Regions from separate parts of the Homo sapiens genome. Here region 2 is linked to region 1. The links are contacts of gene promoters, found by promoter capture Hi-C in human tissues and cell types (Jung and others, 2019). All regions are on one chromosome and are shown on one strand. Each heading gives the region's core, a stretch centred on a gene start or on the middle of the fragment in contact. The rest is flanking DNA. Distances are from core to core; before and after follow the strand shown.

Region 1 (3,267 bases), core at 248-2,747:
ATGGGGTGGGGGCTCAGTGGAGACAACAGGCAGCGCTTCCTTCTTCTTTGGGCATCTCTGGACCCCCCACACCCCCGATCCCCATGTAGGGGACCCCTTGCCTCAGCCACCAGGCCCGTGCCACAAGCTGATGTGAAGTCAGATGGGGTGTGAGAGCTGGCTGGACACAGATTTAACCTTCCAGGGCTGAGGAGCTCGTCTACGGTAGGTTGGATGAGGGCGTGAAGAAGCATGTGTGAGCGTGTGTGTGCTGGAGGGTGTGAGGGTGTGAGGCTGTGTCTGAGTGATTGCACGTGAGAGCATGTGTCTGCATGTGTGACTGTGTGTGTGTGTGTGTGTGTGTGTGTGTGTGTGTGTGTGCGTGTGTGTGTTGGGGGCAGGAAAGGGAGCTGGTGTGGAGGGGCTCAAACTGGTGCAGGCAGAGTGGACAAAAAGAGAAAAGAGTTGTCTTTGAGTTGGGCCTGGAGAGCAGGAGAAGAAAAAAGGAGCTCTTATTGGTGGTTGTCAAGGAGATGGGCCTTGGGGTTTGCTGAACTTTCGTCCCTTAAAGCGTCCTGCCTGGAACTGAGAGGGGCCATTTATTTCCAGCCGCCCGTCCCTCCCAGGCCCGGTGGGACCAGACCCGAAGCCAACCCTCGCCAGGCGTCAGGTGTAGACCCCAGGCCAGGCCAGAGCAGTTCCTGGGTCTTCGGACCGGGATGCCCGCCCTGCCCCTCCTCCTGGCCCCGCCCGGTCTGTCACAGGGGGAGGCCTCGGCCTCGCATTCCGGGCAGCGAACTTCGCCGGCCGAGGTTAGCCCCGTGCGGGGGCCTCCCGCGGGACCGACCGCCAAGCGGCATTGTCCGTCCCGGGCGCCCGCCCGGTTCCAGACGCAGGTCCTGCGGCCGCCCCGTGACAAGCACACTGACGGGCCACTGTCCTTTGACGAGTGCTAAAAAGTTCGTTTGTTTTGAACGTCAATTTTCAAGTGATCTTCACGAGGTTTCCCCTCCCGGTTCCTTCGCTGCTGCCTCGCCCGCACTCGGTCCCCAGTAGGTGCTCAAGAAACGTCCAGCAAACGGCAGCGCAGGCGAGTCTGCTCTGCGCGCTGGCGCGTTTCACTGCCCACGGATGGCGGGCGACCTCACGGGATCCCCGGTTCGCAGGATCCCCGCCCCCGAGGCTGCCTCTGGGCCGGGAGGGGTTACCCCAGAGGGGCGTCCACTCTCGACGGCGGGGGCCGGGGCGCCGCGGGCAGGGGAGGGCGCAGCCTCCAAGCAGCCCCAGCCTGGCCTAGACCCCGCGCCTAGCGAGCCGGCCGGCCAGGCCCACACCCCCCACCTGCCGCCCGCCCCAGGGGAAGGGTCCCCCCGACGACGCCCGAGCCCCCCTCTTCCTCGGAGGGCCGGAGGCCGGCGCCCATTGGCCGGCCCTGGGCGACGCCCCGCCCCTCCGACGCCACGGGCCAATGAGCGCGCGCTGTCAGCTCATCAGCCGGGCTGGCTGGGCGGCTCGGGAGCCCGAGCGGTGGCGGAGCGGCGAGCAGCGAGCAGCGCCTGCGGGAGCGGCCGGTCGGTCGGGTCCCCGCGCCCCGCACGCCCGCACGCCCAGCGGGGCCCGCATTGAGCATGGGCGCGGCGGCCGTGCGCTGGCACTTGTGCGTGCTGCTGGCCCTGGGCACACGCGGGCGGCTGGCCGGGGGCAGCGGGCTCCCAGGTAAGCCCCCGACCGAGGTGGGGGGCGGCGGGCGCGGGGGGCTCGGGCGGCCGAGGCGCGGTCCCGGAGGGCTTCTTCCCCGCGGATCCCGAGCTCGCCCCGCGCGGCCCCGCGCCCCCTGCCTCTTTGCAAAGTAACTTCTAGGGCCGGCCCGGGGCGCCCCCTCCCCGCAGCCCGGGCGGCCGGGGCTCCTGAGTCCGGCGGGGCCGCACCAGGGGTGGGTGGGCCGGGGCCCCGGGAGGGGAAGCGCGAGCGCGGGAGCGAGGAAGAAAGGCGGCGGTTCCCGGGGACCCCGCGTGCGGACCTGGGCGGGGCGGGACCCCGAGCGCAGAGGGGCGCTCCTCCTGGGAGAGGGGGCGCGGGGCGGGGCGGGCGGAGGGGGACACGCCAGGAGGTGGACGGGGAAAGGGACGGACCGAGAGACCGGGACGGGGCGGGAGGTGCGGGACAGACGGACAGAAGAGCCGGCGCCGAGGGAGCAGACAAAAGGAAGCCCGGAGAAAAGACAGATGCGGAAGGGTAGAGAGGAGGCCCGCACCGCCCGGGGAAGGAGGAGGAGGCCGGTGGATCAGGGGGAATCAAGAGGGATGGTCCCACCGATGATAAGGGAGAGAGAGAGGAGGAGACGGGGGACAGATGGACGCCGCAGAAAAACGGGGTTGGGGGGGGCGGTGAGAGGGAGACCGGGAAAGAGAGAGGGACAGAGATACCTGGAAAGCCGCAGACGAGGGACCGGGACCGTCTGACAGGACGGGGAGGAAAGACAGAGGGAAGGAAGGCAGAGGATCCGGAGGACAGACACAGGGAGGAGAGTCCGGACGCGGGACGTCGGTGGAGCAGACCCAGGAAGGGGAGGGGGAGACCCGGAGGCCACAGGCCCAGGCCCGTGGGTTTCACGGGGACCCCCCCACCCTCCCACCCGGTCCCCTCCTGCTCTCTGTCTTCAGGGGCTTCCCGAAAAGCTGGAGTCACATTCTCCCCTCCTCGTCATCAGAGGCGCTTCCTCCGGTGCTCTGCTTGGAGGGGGAGGCAGGGGGAGGGTCCTGCACGTCCTTCCCGGCTTCCTGAGGTCTGGTATGGGTGGCGTAGGGTCTATTCCTGGTGGTCCCGCGTGCCCCGAGTGAGGATGCTGGGCCTGTGAGACTCTTCCACAGCAACACCCCTCCTGGAAGCCCAGCCCTGCTGCCCCATCATCCCCCTTGTGTCTGTGGGTGTCTCTCCCAAGCTTTGGGGTCCCTCACCTCTGAGTGACTGTTCCTGGGCGTGCCTATCCCCACCTGTGTCCCTCCTCGTGTCTCTCTGTATCTGACTCTGTCTCCTCCACGACCCTCTCCGTGGAAGCCCTGTGACTGTGAAACCCCAGCAGCATGTCCCCAGCATAAGCAAACCAGAGTCAAAGGGAGCAGCCTGTGCTAGGAGGGCTGGGTCGCCCTGCAGGGGAGTCTCCAGCCCAGACAGGAGCGGGAGCATGGCAGAGAACCGATGGGGACAAGTGGCTTCTCCCTCTCTCTCCTCAAACTCCCATGTCCTCTCCCCACACTCCACACCAAGGACACCCAAGTGTTTAAAGGT
Region 2 (3,261 bases), core at 201-2,700, 170 kb after region 1:
ATCTGGACAAAGGCCCTTCCAAGGTGGGGGCGAGAAACCAGAGCTGGCCAGCCAGTGTACGTGGACAGGTAGGCACAGCCTGCACAGAAGCAGGAGGCCAGCTCTGGGTACAGGAAGGAAGAAAGGAAGTCCTGGAAGGCCTCTGTGGCCTGGCTGGTTAATGAGTGTTTCAGATGCACAGAACACCTACCCCACCCTGCCTGTCGCCAGCCTTGCAGGTGCCGCGGACTCCCCATGCAGCCAGCCCCAACGCTCCCCGACCCCTGAACGTGTGGCTGTCATTCCCAGGCATGTCTTTGGTTCTTTTCAGCAGGAGTATGTTCCTGACCATTCAAGCTGCTGTTTTGCTTACTTAGGTTTTTTGTTTTGTTTTGTTTTTTTGAGAGACAATGTCTCACGCTGTCACCCAGGCTGGAGTGCGGAGGCATGATCTGGGCTCACTGCAACCTCAATCTCCTGGGCCCAAGCCATCCTTCTGCCTCAGCCCCCTAAAGTAGCTGGGACTACGGGCACGTGCCTCCACGCCCGGCTAATTTTTTTGTATTTTTAGTAGAGACGGGGTTTCGCCATGTTGCCCAGGCTTGTCTGAAACTCCTGGACTCAAGCGCTCCGCCTGCCTCAGCCTCCTAAAGTGCTGGGATTACAGGCGTGAGCCACCATGCCCGGCCTCCTACTTAGGTTTTTATGTAAATATCATCTTATTCAACGGATCCTTCTGCAGCTTGCTTTGTTGGCTGAGTGGCGTGTTTTGAGGTTTTGAGGTTCGGGCTTGTTGCTAACTGTGGCGGCGATTGGTCATCTGAGGTCTTCACTAATGATAAATCATGGCGCGTGAACATGCGTGGAGGCACCTGGCCATGCCCATGTCCGAGGAGTCCTCTAGGAGGACTTGGAGAAAGGGCCCTGCCATGCACTGGTGACTATACCAGCACACACTCCCCACAGGGGCCGAGTGGTCCTGTTGCTTCTGTCTGTCTTATCCTTGCCTGTGTTGAAGCCTACTCCCTAGGACCCAGACCCCCCAGCAGGGCCCCAGGACATTGTTGGAAGTCGCCCTCAGGTTCTGAGCCCCTCCCTTCTGTACTGTGGGGGTCATCCCGGGAGTCCTCTCCTGGAGCTCTGTGCCTGGGGAGGTACGTCCAGCATGGCATGGATGGCGGGCTTCCATAGGGGCCTTTCCTGGCTTGTTCTTTTCTGGGAGAAACCTGAGCCGACTGCCACCTTCCTCGGGTGTGTTTTGGGTAAAGTCTTGAGGCCAGAAAGATCTTGCATCCCTCAAGCACTCTTGAGCTGGTGCTGAACCAGGGCACAGGCAGGTCCCGCGGCGGAGTCTTGAGCTCTGCCTCCTTCGCACTGTACTGAGCTGAGTGTGAGGATGGTGCCAGCCCAGGCCCTGCAGTTTCTGGAGCCCTCGATGTTCATTGTCTCGCGTGAGCCTCACAGCTGCGTGGCAAAGTCAGTTTACTGGGCAGAGCACATTTTCCCATTTCACAGAGGAGGAAACAGGCTCAGAGAAGTTAATCCGTTGGTCCAGAGTCACACAGTAAGACCTGGAGCCCAGACTCCATCTCCTGCCTCCTGTTTGGACCCTGAGGGTTCGGGGTTGGCTGCCTGCTCCTGGAACCCCCACCCAGTGTCAGAAGCTCCTGGTCCAGGCAGTAGCAGGCTGCCTGCTCCCGGCCCAGCGGAGGCCTGTACAGAGCGTGATGGGCCCTGTGTCTGTTGCAGGTGCACTGTGAAGAGTTCATCCCCGAGTTTGAGAAGCAATACCCAGAATTTCCCTGGACGGACGTCCAGGTAATTCCTGTCCTGCACACCATCGCAGGCCGGTGGGGCGGGTCCCGGGCTGGGGGCCTGCAGGAGCTGCTCCCTTCCCTCTCTGCTGGCATGGGCTGGGAGGGACCTTTGTCCCCTGCAGTTGGTCATTCTCCCCAGAGGCTGGCAAGACAGCGTGGGCTCCCCTCCCTTCCACCCTGGGCATTTGTGGGTGCTCCTGAGAGGGAGGGAGCTGGAGGGGCATGTGGGGCACCCCTGGGACAGCCAGAGGGTGGCGGCACTGCCTGACCCTAGATTCCCAGTCATATGGAGACGTTGGCTGGGCCTCCATGTCCAGCAGCGGCATTCTGGGTGCTGTGTTGAGCTCCTTGGGGCAGTGGGGAGCAACGGGGTCTGCGGCAGGAGATGGGCAGATTTGCAGAAGGTGGGCGTCAGGAGTAAGAGGGCAGGTGCTGGGCGGAGGTGGCCATGGTGAGGTCTAGAGACGTGAAGATGTGGGAGGGGGTGACTTGGGCCACGTGGGGCCCGGGACTTGGGCAGGGGCAGCAGACCCCCTCTTGAGAGGCTGTTCTGAGCAGGCCTCGTAACTCAGGCTCCCCGGTCCCCAGGCTGAGATCTTCCGGGCCTTCACGGAGCTGTTCCAGGTGGCCTGTGCCAAGCCACCACCCCTGGGCCTCTGCGACTACCCCTCATCCCGGGCCATGTATGCCGTCGACCTCATGCTGAAGTGGGACAACGGCCCAGATGGTAAGAGGGGCTCCCCATCTCCTGATCCAAACCAGCAGGCGCCCCCTCCGCCAGCCAGCCACAGCCTGGAGAAGGCAGGCAGCTGCCCCAGGCTGTCCTCTGGCTTGAATCAGCCAGGAATCTGGGTTGGGGAAAGCCCTGGCTTGGCCCACAGGAAGTGCCTGCGGTGCAGAGTCTGGAGGGGAAAGGCTGCGGGTTGGGCCTCTGAGTCGGGGGAGAGCTCACAGGACAGGAGACCCGTGTGAAAGGCACCCTGACCCCAACCCACACCACCCTGGCTGGCCTTCCCTGTGCCAGACCCCCACACAGTACACTGCTGCTGCATATCTACTTTTTTTTTTTTTTACTAAACTGAACATCCAAGCTTAAAGGGCCAGGCTGTCATCCCTAGGGCTGGAGGCAGCCCTGGCCTCTCCTAGAGAAGCAGATGTCAGGCCAGGCCTCCCCAGCAAAGTCAAGAGACCCAAGTTCTAGGCCCGGCCTTGTCCTGCTCATCCCCTGGGAATCAGGGCCCAGGTTCATGGCCTCCCAGCCTTTGCTGGATCCCCAGGCCACTGTCCCTGCAGAGTGGAGGCCAACGAGCCTTCACACTCTGCTGCGCTCTTTGCCATCAGGAAGGCGGGTGATGCAGCCGCAGATCCTGGAGGTGAACTTCAACCCCGACTGTGAGCGAGCCTGCAGGTACCACCCCACCTTCTTCAACGACGTCTTCAGCACCTTGTTTCTGGACCAGCCCGG

Evidence for each region. Contacts are between HindIII fragments. The study calls those that stand out against the background at their distance.
Region 2: a contact is called between a fragment that was not itself captured here and the fragment with the promoter of SCUBE1 in region 1, in 1 of the 25 tissues and cell types used here (mesendoderm cells).

What each region holds. Positions count from the first base shown.
Region 1 is chr22:43,341,602-43,344,868 of GRCh38, reverse strand. It overlaps SCUBE1 (signal peptide, CUB domain and EGF like domain containing 1), which reads left to right and starts at 1,497. Exons shown (of 22, transcript NM_173050.5): 1 at 1,497-1,695. The coding sequence starts at 1,608. The HindIII fragment of the contact is 4,801 bases long and covers 1-3,267 here.
Region 2 is chr22:43,168,036-43,171,296 of GRCh38, reverse strand. It overlaps TTLL12 (tubulin tyrosine ligase like 12), which reads left to right. Exons shown (of 14, transcript NM_015140.4): 12 at 1,729-1,797; 13 at 2,385-2,523; 14 at 3,138-3,261. Among named protein-coding and RNA genes, the nearest start is that of TTLL12, 17 kb to the left of the region's middle. RefSeq lists enhancers at 1,377-2,232, 2,233-3,089. The HindIII fragment of the contact is 9,757 bases long and covers 1-3,261 here.